Regions from separate parts of the Homo sapiens genome. Here regions 1 and 3 are each linked to region 2. Evidence: promoter capture Hi-C in 16 types of primary human blood cells and fetal thymus (Javierre and others, 2016). All regions are on one chromosome and are shown on one strand. The core of a region is centred on a gene start or on the middle of the fragment in contact, and the rest is flanking DNA. Distances in the headings are between cores, read along the strand shown. Region 1 holds the start of SAFB2 (scaffold attachment factor B2). Region 2 holds the start of RFX2 (regulatory factor X2). Region 3 holds the start of CD70 (CD70 molecule).

Evidence for each region. The method cuts DNA at HindIII sites, captures the fragments that hold promoters and counts their contacts. A CHiCAGO score of 5 or more calls a contact.
Region 1: the fragment with the promoter of SAFB2 here is called in contact with the fragment with the promoter of RFX2 in region 2 in 6 of 17 cell types (activated CD4 T cells, total CD8 T cells, non-activated CD4 T cells and 3 more); the score reaches 8.0 in activated CD4 T cells.
Region 3: the fragment with the promoter of CD70 here is called in contact with the fragment with the promoter of RFX2 in region 2 in 2 of 17 cell types (erythroblasts and total B cells); the score reaches 6.4 in erythroblasts.

The regions. Positions count from the first base shown.
Region 1 is chr19:5,620,576-5,624,927 of GRCh38, reverse strand. SAFB2 (scaffold attachment factor B2) reads left to right here and starts at 2,152. Exons shown (of 21, transcript NM_014649.3): 1 at 2,152-2,398; 2 at 3,532-3,619. The coding sequence starts at 2,213. It overlaps SAFB (scaffold attachment factor B), which reads right to left and starts at 1,845. Exons shown (of 21, transcript NM_001201338.2): 1 at 1,534-1,845. The coding sequence starts at 1,722. RefSeq lists enhancers at 683-1,414, 1,415-2,147, 2,068-2,407, 2,881-3,613 and silencers at 1,388-1,437, 2,408-2,527, 3,532-3,752. The HindIII fragment of the contact is 4,337 bases long and covers 149-4,352 here.
Region 2 is chr19:6,109,045-6,113,398 of GRCh38, reverse strand. It overlaps RFX2 (regulatory factor X2), which reads left to right and starts at 2,899. Exons shown (of 18, transcript NM_000635.4): 1 at 2,899-3,006. RefSeq lists a silencer at 2,578-3,037 and an enhancer at 3,885-4,354. The HindIII fragment of the contact is 2,952 bases long and covers 1,891-4,354 here.
Region 3 is chr19:6,588,933-6,592,828 of GRCh38, reverse strand. It overlaps CD70 (CD70 molecule), which reads left to right and starts at 1,679. Exons shown (of 3, transcript NM_001252.5): 1 at 1,679-1,988; 2 at 2,693-2,726. The coding sequence starts at 1,827. RefSeq lists enhancers at 1-439, 1,510-1,909, 2,410-2,779. The HindIII fragment of the contact is 5,862 bases long and covers 1-3,896 here.

The DNA.
Region 1 (4,352 bases), core at 903-3,402, 490 kb after region 2:
AGCTGATGGGAGGCCCTGGTGGCGGGGCACCACACCTGACCAGCCGCCAATCTCCACTCTCTGCATTTTCTCTGGGTAAATATGTAGATCAGTGGGCTTCCTGCCTTATCTGAGTAAAGAGAATCCATAGTGAAAAGAAACACAAGCTTGAGCTTTTAAAAGGCCCATGTGACTCTGGCCGAGACAACTATCCACCCTTGAGCCCAGGGTTTCTCATCAGGAAAAAAAAAAAAAAAAAAATCCCTACTTCTTCTCATCACCAATTAATAATAAAGCCCTGTGATCTCCGTAGTTCCGGAGTCAGGATGGTGGGATGTGTCAACAGCCCCACTGCCTGCAGGGGCTGGGGGGTGGGCGGCCAGGCGGAGCAACTACAGGGGAGAGGTCCCAGAGTAGCCAGGTGGAAAAAAGGCAGAGAAAAAAAGCTACAGGAATAAGGAAACCGCAGGTGGCTAACCTTTACTTGCCTCTCTGCTTTTCCTAGGGATCCCTTTGAATCCCCCAAGGGAGGCGTTAGAGCCCCCGATCTGCAAATGAGGACTCGTGGTGGCACAGAGAGGAAAAGCGAATCGTGATGGCAACCACACACCGAGTGTTTACATGCGCCAGGCAGCACGCCAAGCCTGCTCCACGCAAACTTATTTAATCCCCAAATCAAAGTCCTATTGCTTTTTTGCTTCTTACAGGAGAAAAAAAAAAAAAAAGAATAGAAAAGAGGACTCAGAAGGGGTTCAAGGTCTCCTATGCCCAAGATCAGGCCACCGAGAGCTGGCAGGGTCCCCAAGTCCAGAGAGACTGACGGAGCTGGGGGAGCCCAGGCTCTGCCCGCCTCCCGGGCAGTTCTGAGGCTGGTTTTAAAGTCCACCCGGGGTCTCCCCTCATTTCACATTTCTGATCACTACCGTCAACACCACTTTTCCTTCCTGCCACGTTACTTCACCGAGCGAGTACCGGCAAACCGTGAAAACTGGATTGTGGTGGGTTTTTTTCTATTTTTCCCTTTGAGTATGTCCTACGGGTGTTTCCTTTGTAAATCAGCCCCGATTCAGGCTGGTCGGTCCCCTGTGGGTCACAAAGCATCTTCCCTGGGGAAACCAAGCAGCCGAATCAGGAATCCCAGGGCCTGGGTTCAAATCCCGACGCTGCCCGTCCTCGGCCGTGTGACCTTGGCCGAGTCCCTTCCCCTCGCCTGGGAAGTGAGGGTTTCAGGGTCTCCCCTCCAGGTACGGAGGAGGGGACGAGACGAGGGGAGAACCCTCCTCTCAGTGGACGATGTCACCCGTCACCGTTTCTCCTGCACGCGTGCCGTTTTTGTGGTTCTCCTGGCCCCATTGCGGCGTTAGGATTTGAACCCAGGCCCAGCCGGCCAAGGAACTCTCTCCGGGGCCTCGGAGGAGCCGGGGGACGCGAGAGCGCCAGGTCCGGCGAGGCCGCGAACGCGGCCGGGGGCGGACGCCAGGGCCCGCGAGCCACCGTCGCGGCCAAGAGGACCCCAGACCCACCCTGTGCCCGCCCTCGGGGCCCCAAATCCACCTTCTTCAGCCGCTCCATCAAAACGCTCTTGTTGCCGCTCGAGTCCACATTCCGTTTCCTCAGCTCCGCCCGCAGATCGATCACTCGCAGGTCGCTGAGGCGCCGCGTCCCGGTCTCTGACGAGGCGGAGCTCAGAGCCGCCGCGCCCGCCGCTCCAGAATCACCTAGGCCTGACAGAGTCTCCGCCATTCCAGGGACCCTGGCTCCGCCGCCCACTTTCCACAGAACCGGGCCGGTTTTATCAGGCTCCTAGCACAAAATGGCGCCGCCTGCGAGGGAACCGCTCCAGTCGCCCCAGCGCGCCTCGCTTCTGCGCAGGCGCACCAAGCGTAGGTTCTAGTATCCCGGTTGCAACTGCACATGCGCAGTGAGAACAACGCGGGGATGTGCGCAGACGCGTTGCGTCTCGTCAGCCTCCCGCCGGGAACTGCCGGGACGCATGCGAGCTGCAGATTCAGCGCTTGCGCGTTGTGCCGGGGAACCCGCGGTTGGTGGACGCGCGAGCGTCCTTGCTGCTAAGTACGCTAGTGGGGGCGGTGCGCGTGCGCGTGCGCGGCCGCAAAGCGGGGCGGGAGGAAACGAGTGCGTTTTCCTCTTAGGCGGCGCCATTTTGTGTTCAGAGCCGCTATAGCTGCCGGCGGTGTGCGACTGAGTCGGTGGCGAAGACGGGAACGCGACGATGGCGGAGACTCTGCCCGGGTCGGGCGACTCGGGCCCTGGCACGGCTTCTCTCGGCCCGGGCGTTGCGGAGACTGGGACGAGGCGGCTCAGCGAGCTGCGGGTGATCGATCTGCGGGCGGAGCTGAAGAAGCGGAACCTGGACACGGGCGGCAACAAGAGCGTCCTGATGGAGCGGCTCAAGAAGGTGAGGCGGCGCGGGGCTCGGGGGTGGCGCAGGAGGCCCGGGCACGCCCCCGCCTGCACCTGTCACCGCGGCTCCCGGACCCGGGGCGCCCTGGGTTCGCCCCGCGTCTTGGCCGACCCCGGTTCGAGGTGTCGGGCACCCAGGGGGCCGGCTGTGTGACCTTGGCCCGTCACCGCTCCTCTCTGTGCCTCCCTTCCTATCCTCTTTCCACCTTTTCTCCTCAAGCGCGCTCAGCGTGCGGTCTTCTCCGCTACCAGGGTGGCCCCGGGACCCCTCCTGGGGCTCCCGATCGAGCCTTGGCTCTGTGACCTTGGGCAGGTGCCTTTCTCTCTGTGCCTCAGTTTCCTCCTCCGGAGAATGGGTGTCTGGCGGACTCCAGAGCATTTACAGGAAAGGGGGCGGTGCTTGTTCTTGCCCCAGGGCTTTGGCCTTTACGAAGCTGTCCACCCGGGTCCCCCAGATCTTCTCGTGGCCGGCCCCTTGTTGTCATTTTGGGTCTGCCTGAGACATCACCTTCCTGAGCGCCCTTCCTAATGCGCTGCCCCACCTCCTTGCCAGCTCATCCTGCGTTTGTGTCGCACCTCGCTGAAAGCAGGGGCTAAATGCAAAATATTAAGGGGTTGGGAATTGTCTGTTTCCGCAACTGGAACAAACAACTTGAGCATAGGGAGGGAGCTTGTGGGTACCCAGTCCTGGACCCGGCAGGTGGCAGGCACTGAGGGACCTGTTGAATCTCCCCAGGCTGGCTGCTGTTCCTCCTCACCAGCGGTGGCCAGCCCTTCACCGAGGCCGGGCCAAGTGCAGCCTCTCTGTTCTAATTTGTCCCATCATATAACTTTAAAGTCGAAGGTTTGGCATTGTCGAGTTGAGTTGCCATTTTGGAACTGGTCCTTGACCCCAATTCTGGAGCTCCTGCTCACAGCCTCCCTCTCCTTTGTCATTTGGACCCAGAGAGACCCAAGTTGTGCGGGGTTCCTCCTCCGCCTTTTGGGCTTGCGGCCCAGATAGCTGACCCGGAGTTGCTCTTTGCAAGGACGGGTTTGCCTTTGTTTCATGGGAGGTTGTTACTTGTAAGGAACAGTGTGTGCCCTGCAGCTCTTAATGATGTTGTAAAACTCATCTCTCCCTAATAGGCGGTTAAAGAAGAGGGGCAAGATCCTGATGAAATTGGCATCGAGTTAGAAGCCACCAGCAAGAAGTCAGCCAAGAGATGTGTTAAAGGTATTGTACATATGCTGCTTGGGGCTTGAGTGTTCAGAGAATTTAGAGAAATGGTGTGTAGTGTGCTCTTCCCGCCTTCTAGGCTGGGAGAATTTCTCTGGTACTCGGTGTCCCTCCACTAAGAGTTAGCTTTGCTCGTCACCACCTAACAGGTAGCTCTGTCAAGGGCACAGGGAGGAGGAAAGAGATGTACAGGTGCCAAGTGCAATTAAAATATACGAAAAACGTTTCAGCTTCTGCCATTGGGATTAAAAGTCAACTAGAGAAAGACAAGCTCTTAAAGCTACTTCTACGGGTCTGAGGAACCAAATGTACCTACTTGGCTTCCTTCCTGGTTCAAAAAATAGGTCTTAACCCAAAGAAAAGGACACCAACCTGAGACCGAATAGAACTCAGCTTTGCTAGGGTCCAAAGTAGATTGTTGGGGTATTTGCACTCAGCCTATTTTTTACTATTACGGTTTTTGAATGTGAAGGTTTAATTCACAGACCGTTAAATTCATCAGGTTAAGGTGTACAATTCAGTGCTTCCTAGTGTATACACAAGGCTCTGCCACCACCACCACCGTCTCCTTCTGGATTTTCATCACCCAAAAAGGAAACCCGGTCCTCATTAGAAGTTAGTCGCCTTACTTTTCTCCCTCCAGCCCCTGGCAACTACTAATCCATGTTCTGTCCGCATAGATTTGCCTATTGTGGACATTTCATGTAGATGGAATTGTACAACATATGGC
Region 2 (4,354 bases), core at 1,650-4,149:
TCTATCATCATATACTATATATATACACACATATATGTGTGTGTATATATGTGTGTGTATATATATAAATGTATATATATATATATTAGAGACAGGTTCTTGCTCTGTCTACCAAGCTGGAGTTCAGAGGCACAGTCATAGCTCACCACAGCCTAGAACTCCTGGGCTCAAGCGATCCTCCCACCTCAGCCTCCTGAGCAGCTGGGACTATAGGTGTGCACCACTGCGCCTGGCTAATTTATTTTATTTTTATAGAGATAAGGTCTCACTATGTTGCCCAGGCTGGTCTTGAACCCCTGGCCTCAGACGATCCTCCTGCTGAGTCACTGCACTTGGACCTCAATAAATATTTTTGACTAAATTAATAATTGAATGAAAGGGACTGATTACTGTAGACCACTTGAGCTTAAGAATCTGTCACATGGCCAGGCGCAGTGGCTCCTGCCTGTAATCCCAGGACTTTGGGAGGCTGAGGCGGGTGGATCACTTGAGATCAGGAGTTTGAGACCAGCCTGGCCAACACGGTGAAACCCCGTCTCTACTAAAAATACAAAAATTAGCCAGGCGTGGTGGCGCGTGCCTGTAACGCCAGCTACTCGGGAGACTGAAACAGGAGAATCACTTGAACTCGGGAGGCGGAGGTTGCAGTGAGCCGAGATCATGCCACTGCACTCCAGCCTGGGCGACAGAGACTCTGTCTCAAGAAAAAAAAAAAAATTAGAAGATGATGAAATCAATTTAGCAAATCACCGTCAACATTTTAATTAAAATGAAACAGAACAGGAAATATCAGAGTGCGTTAAAGTATCATTTCACGGTACTTTAGTTACAGTATCATTTGTTTTAGTTATAGATATGTTTGTGTGGACTGAGCCCCTAGGTAAAATGTATTTCCTGCTGTATGCTGTGGTCAAAAATGTTTGAAAACCACCCATCTAGTGATCAAGAGCATGGACTTTGGCACTAGACTACTAGGGTTCCGATCCCTCACAAGCTGTTTGACACTGGGCAAATTCACTCATTCTTTCTGGGCCTCAGCTTCCTGATCTGAAAAATGGGGAAAGGCCGGGCATGGTGGCTCATGCCTGTAATCCTAGCACTTTGAGAGTCCAAGGCGGGCGGATCACTTGAGGTCAGGAGTTCCAGGCCAGCCTGGCCAACATGGTGAAACCCCGTCTCTACTAAAAATACAAAAATTAGCTGAGCGTGGTGGCGGGCGCCTGTAGTCCCAGCTACTTGAGAGGCTGAGGCAGGAGAATCACTTGAACCCGGGAGACAGAGGTTGCAGTGAGCGAGCCAGATCGCACCACTGCACTCCAGTCTGGGTGACAGAGAGAGACTCTGTCTCAAAAAAAAAAAAAGAAAAAACAAAACAAATAAAAACGGGGATAATGCCTAGCATCTTTCTAAAGATGCGATTGTAAGATTTAATGAGTTTGCATATTTAAAAAATGCTTAGATCACTTTCAGGCACATAGCAATTTAATCAGTGCTCACTAATATGATTTCTTGTTGAATGAATGAGTGGGGCTGAAGCCTAATCTCCTGCCTTTTCTCAGTACAAGTTGTTTTCTCCTATTCTTCCAGCCCCTTGTCTCGAATAACTATATGTTTACCTCTTTATTCTGTTTGCTGTCAATGTTCCCTCACTAGAATAAAAGTTCTATGAGGATCTGTCTGTTTCTGTCCTACTCGTAGCTGAATCTACCAGCTTGAGAGGAGGGCTGGTGAGTTTGGCAAACATTTTCTGTAAAGGACCGTATAGTAAATATCTTAGGCTTCGCGTGGGACATGCCGTCTTTGCGCAACTACTCCACTCCGCCCCTGTAGTGTCAAAGCAGCCTTCCAAGCTGTTCAAGGAAATGGGCGTGGCTATGTTCCAATAAAGCTTTATTTACAAACCCAAGCAGGCAGAATTTGACCCGCAGGCCGCAGTTTGCCAATCTTTAAACTAGTTCAAAATACTGGGCCCAATACAATAAAAGAGAGTCTCCTATCAGGTTCACACCCCACAAAAGCTCCTTTTGATAGTTTCTTTTTTTTTCTTTCTTTCTTTTTTTTTTTTTTGAGACGGAGTCTCGCTCTGTCGCCCAGGCTGGAGTGCAGTGGTGCGATCTCGGCTCACTGCAAGCTCCGCCTCCCAGGTTCGCACCATTCTCCTGCCTCAGCCTCCCAAGTAGCTGGGACTACAGGCGCCTGCCACCACGCCCGGCTAATTTTTTGTATTTTTAGTAGAGACGGGGTTTCACCGTGTTAGTCAGGATGGTCTCGATCTCCTGACTCCGTGATCCACCCGCCTTAGCCTCCCAAAGTGCTGGGATTACAGGCGTGAGCCACCGCGCCCGGCCGATAGTTTCTTTTAACCATGTAAAAAATATATATATATTTAAATTTTCAGCTGGGGGTCCGTGAAAAACAGGCGGCGAGCGAGAGTTTGCTGACCCCTGATCAGACTGTTCCCACATGTCCCACACTCCTCCTGTGGGGTAAACGGAGTCCCTTGGGTCCCCTAAAACTGGACTTTCCCAAAACGCGCCACCAACCCACGGCGCCGCGCGCGCGACCGGTTCGCCAACCCTCTGAGCCGCGCGCGCCTCCCGCCAAGACCCGCCCCTCTTCGCGGCCATTGGCCGAGTCTCGCACTCTTTTTCAAGGGGGAACGCCTCCTCCTTCCGACAGACTCTGCAGACAGCCAATGGAACGCCGTAGGGTCTCGCGCCCCGCCCTCTTGGGGGCCCGTTGGAGGCGAGCGTGGGCGGGCCGTTAGGAAGGTGGGGCGCGGAGCCTGGTAACCGTTGCCGGTAACAACGCCCCGCCCCGTCGGGCGGGCGGGCTGCGCGAGGCTGGCTGGCGGCGGGAGCCGGAGGAGGAGCGGCCGCCGCCGCCACCGCCGCCGCCATAGAGACTGTAGCCGTGGAGACTGTTACTTACCAACGGGGACCAACACGCAGCAGCCGCTGCCGCCGCCGCGGGAGCCGCTGCCCGAACTCCCGGCCCGAACTCCAGGTGACCGATGCGACCGCCCCGGGCCCAGCCCGGCCGGGGAGTGTGGGGGGCGGCGGGGACCCCGTTCGGGGGCCGGGGGGCGGGCAGCACGTCCCCGCCGCTCACCCCAAACGTCCGGGTGGTGCGCCCGCGGGACCCGCCTCCGCCACCCCGTCCGCGCGCGCGGCGGAGTTTGGGGGGACCCTGGCGACGTCCCCACTTTCCTTATTGACTGAACGCGGGGGAGGTGCGGTGCCGTCGCCTCACTTTTTACAAAACTTCCTGAGGTTGGGGCGTCCGGGGACCCCTTTCTCACGCTTACCTTCAAACTCGCTGAGTTGGGGGCGCCCCGGGAACGTCTCTCAAACTCCTCAAACTCCCTGAATTGGGGGCGCTTGGGGACCCTCTTCTCACCTTAACCCCCTAGATCTCTGAGTTGGGGGCACCCAAGGACCCCTCTTTTACTCATACCCTCGAATTTTCTGAATTGGGGGCGCCAGGGGACCCTCTTCTCACGTTTACTCCCCAGATCTCTGAGTTGGGGGCACCCAGGGACCCTTCTTTTACTCAAACCCTCGAATTCTCTGAATTGGGGGCGCTTGGGGACCCTCTCCTCACTTTTACTCCCCAGATCTCTGAGATGGGGACACCCGGGGACCCCTCTTTTACTCATACCCTCAAACTCCCTGAATTGGGGCCACCTGGGGCCCTCTTCTTACTTTACTCCCCAAACCTCCGAAATTGGGGTGACCCCAGAGCCCTTCTGTCACTCTTAGTCGCAAACTTCTTGCATCGGGGGGACCTCGAAGACTCCCTTCTCATTTTTACCCCAAATTCCTAGATCTGACTTGTCCCGGGGACCCCCTTTTTAATGGACTCCCAGACATACTGAATTTGGGGGCACCCCTGGAACCTTTTTCTCATTCCTTAACTAAAAGCTGGTGCGTCTGCCCTGGGGAGAACCCCTCTTGCCCTTCTCACCTTTTCATCCCAAACTCCCCGAGCGAGCTTCCCCGGGAACTGTTTCTCACCTTTTTGCCCCAAATCCTCGCGTTCAGGTCGCCTCGGACACCCCCTCCCCTTCTCCCTGTGACCCCATATTCCTGAGTATAGGGGTTCGTGCGTCCGCCAGTCTTTCCACGTGCCCCCAAGATGCCCCTCCGCACGTCCGCAGCTCTCCTCTTAGGACTGATCTGGAAGGGAGAAAAGTTTCACCAACGCGAGTGAAACTTTTTTTTTTTTTCAATTTATTTATTTTGTTAAAGAACCTAAACTGCTCCAGGCATTTTCTCCGAGGTAGTGCGAGTGCGTGTGTGTGTTTGTGGATTTAAACTCCACCCCCTGCCCCCACCGCCCACCAGCGCGCTCG
Region 3 (3,896 bases), core at 430-2,929, 480 kb before region 2:
AGTGATCCGCCTGCCTCAGCCTCCCAAAGTGCTGGGATTACAGGCGTGAGCCACTGCGCCTGGCTCCTTCTTGGTGTTTCTTGACTTTCATCTGCCTCATTCAGTTTCTGTTTCTGTTTTCACACGGCTCCTTCTCTATGAGCCTCTTTTCTCTCCACCTGAGGGCCCACTCTAATCCAGTATGACCTCATTTAAGCCTAATTATATCTGCAAAAAAAACCCCGTAATTTCAAAATGAGGTCATATTCTGCAGTTCCAGGAGGCCATGAATTCTGGGAGGACACCGTTAACCCACTACAGCCATCGAGAACAGCAGCAGGAGGCTGGATGCGGTGGCTCACACCTGTCATCCCGGCACTTTGGGGGACCTACGCAGCAGGATCGCTTGAGCCCAGATGTTTGAGACCAGCCTGGTAACATAGTAACACCCTATCCTCTACCCCCCCCAAAAAAAAAATTAGCCGGGCATGGTAGCGTGTGCTGGTAGACCCAACTATGCAAAAGGCTGAGATGGGAGGGTCACTGAAGCCCAGGAGTTTGAGGCTGCTGTGAGCTGTGTGGCGCCACTGCATCCAGCCTGGGCAACAGAGCAACACTCTGTCTCTAAAAATATTAATTTAGGCCGGGCGCGGCGGCTCACGCCTGTAATCCCAGCACTTTGGGAGGCCAAGGCGGGCAGATCACGAGGTCAGGAGATGGAGACCATCCTCGCTAACATGGTGAAAACCCATCTCTACTAAAAATACAAAAAGTTAGCCGGGCGTGGTGGCGGGCGCCTGTAGTCCCAGCTACTTGAGAGGCTGAGGCAGGAGAATGGCGTGAACCCGGGAGGCGGAGCTTGCAGTGAGCCGAGATGGCGCCACTGCACTCCAGCCTGGGCGACAGAGCGAGACTCTGTCTCAAAAAAAAAAAAAATAAATAATAAAATAAAATAAAAATAAAAAATAAAAATATTAACTTAATTTAACTTTAAACAAAAAAGCAGGTGGTCTCCAAGAATGCAGGAGATAACTGACCGGGTGCAGTGTCTCATGCCTTTAATCCCAGCACTTTGGAAGGCCAAGGCGGGTGGATCACCCAAGGTCAGGAGTTCAAGTCCAGCCTGGCCAACATGGTGAAACCCCATCTCTACTAAAAATACAAAAAATTAGCCAGGCATGGTGGCGCGCGCATGTTACTCCCAGCTACTCGCGAGGCTCAGACAGGAGAATCGCTTGAACCCAGGAGATCGAGGTTGCGGCGAGCTGAGATGGCGCCACTGCACTCCAGCCTGGGTGACAGAGGGAGACCTCCGTCTCAAAAACAAAACAAATCAAAAAAATGCAGGAGAGGGGTACACGAATATTTGGGGAGCACCCCCAATTCTTGGATGTCTGCTGTATCCCCAGTGCACAGCACAATCTAATCCCTAATAAATGTGCAGTGGAGGTTTGTTGAATAAATGAATGGGCCCCAGAAGAATGAGGTGGAGAGGGGAATAGGAAGATTGAATGTCTCCTGCCTGAAGGTCGGGCGGGGAGGGGTTGGGGGCAGGCAACTCTGAGGCTCACCCGGGGCCACTGCCTGCATCCTGGCAACTGCCTCCACCCACTTTAGGATCTTCAGACTGGCAGCGGTTGGAGGGAATTTCCCCTCGCCAATTGCTCAAGTCCCTCCCCTCGACCGGCCGGACATCCCCAGAGAGGGGCAGGCTGGTCCCCTGACAGGTTGAAGCAAGTAGACGCCCAGGAGCCCCGGGAGGGGGCTGCAGTTTCCTTCCTTCCTTCTCGGCAGCGCTCCGCGCCCCCATCGCCCCTCCTGCGCTAGCGGAGGTGATCGCCGCGGCGATGCCGGAGGAGGGTTCGGGCTGCTCGGTGCGGCGCAGGCCCTATGGGTGCGTCCTGCGGGCTGCTTTGGTCCCATTGGTCGCGGGCTTGGTGATCTGCCTCGTGGTGTGCATCCAGCGCTTCGCACAGGCTCAGCAGCAGCTGCCGCTCGAGTCACTTGGGGTGAGTTGAGATGGAAAAGTTGGGAAGAAAACATAGAGAGGCGCGTGACCGAAAAGACAGAATGAGATGGGTACAAAGAGGCCAGAGAGGAAGATCTGGTAGGGCAGAGACAGAGACCAGAACAGGGAGGCGAGGCGGGGACCAGGCTGCCCGGTGTAGGGGCTACGAGACAGGCAGCCCTGCCAGGAGGTACAGGGAGATCCCGGGATGGGAAAGGTAGGCACACATGGAAATGGAAGATGACTCGGCTCTGGTGTTCCCCCGGCAGGCTGACTCAGAGGCTGCTGGGGGCTTCACAAGGCTGGGCGTGGGGGCTTCCTGGGGCCTCCTAGGACGGGATGGCCCCAGCCACTCGCTCCGGGTGGGGGAGGGGTCCCTTTGGGGACCGCGCCGGGCGCCTTTGCAGCGTAGAGAGTCCGCTGCGCGCGGTGCTCTCGCGCCCAGTGACATCCAGGAAAACGATTCGGGAAACGAAGAAGTTCTTTTGAAGGTCTCGACTTCACGTTCCCCGCTGGTTCAGACCTGCTTCCTCTTTAAGAAGTCTTAAGAGTAAAAAAAAATAAAATGAAATAAAATCACCAGTGCGCGCCGTGGGATGAGAGGTGGAAAGGAGGATGGACAGAGAAAAGAGAGCTCCTGGCACAGGGGACACATAGAACCTCTCTGCTTACGTCCGTGCCCTGTTTTCTGGTCTTTTCTTCCAGTGGGACGTAGCTGAGCTGCAGCTGAATCACACAGGTAACACGGGGGACGTGGAGGGACGGGGAGAAGAAGAGGCACAGAGAGAGAAGGAAGGAGAGGTAGAAAGACAAGTGGGGAGAGACAGAGAGAAAGAGACACAGACAGAGACGGAGGGAGAGAGGGAGGGAGAGATAGGGAGGGAAACGGAGAGGGGGAGACAGAGAGAAGACAGAGAGGGAGGGAGAGGCCCAGAGAAAGGGAGGGAGAGACAGAAAAAAGAACAGAGAGAGGGACAGAGGGGACAGACGGGACAGGAGAAGAAGGGGAAAGAAAGAAACAGGGAGAGACGCAGGGAGAGTGGAAGAGGGAGGGAGGGAGACAGGCGGGGGAGACAGAACGAGAGAGAGGGAGAGAGACGGAGAAAGAGAAAAAAGACAGATAGAGGAAGAGAGAATAAAAACGAGAGAGGCGACCTGGCGTGGTTGCTGGAGCCTGTAATCCCAGCGCTTTCGGAGGGCGCGGCGGGTGGATCACTTGAGCCCAGGAGTTTGAGACCAGCCTGGCCAACATGGTGAAACCCCGTCTCTACTAAAATTACAAAAATTAGCCGGGTGTGGTGGCAGGCACCTGTAATCCCAGCTACTCAGGAGGCCGAGGCAGGAGAATCGCCTGAACCTGGGAGGCAGAAGTTGCAGTGAGCCAAGATAATGGCACTGCTCTCCAGCCTGGGTGACAGAGGGAGATTCTGTCAAATAAATAAATAAAAAGAAGAAAGGAAAAGAAAAAGAAAGAAAGGAAGGAAGGAAAAGAAAGAGAAGAAGGAAGGAAGGAGAGAGGGAGGGAGGTGAGAGAGAGAGAAAGGAAAAAGAAAGAAGAAAGAGAAAAAAAGAAATAAGAGAAAGAAAAGAAAGAAAGCCAGAGAGAGGAAAAGAGAAGGAGAATAACAGAGAGGAAGAGACAGAGACAGAGAGGGGGAAGAAGAAAAACAGGGCGGGGGAGAAAGAGATCATTCCCAAGAGAAAAAGGAAAAGGGAGAGAACGAGAGAGAGAGAGAGGAGAGAGAGAGCGAGCAGGTTTGTGTTTCTGGGCATCCACTACCTTTCTCTCCCTTTCCCTCTCAGTCCTTCACATTCGATCTCCTCCCTTGGAAGAATCAAAGGGGTTTTGTTAGTAAACGAAAACGCTCACAGGAAAGGCTACCCTTCCTCCATTCATGCTACAAGCACT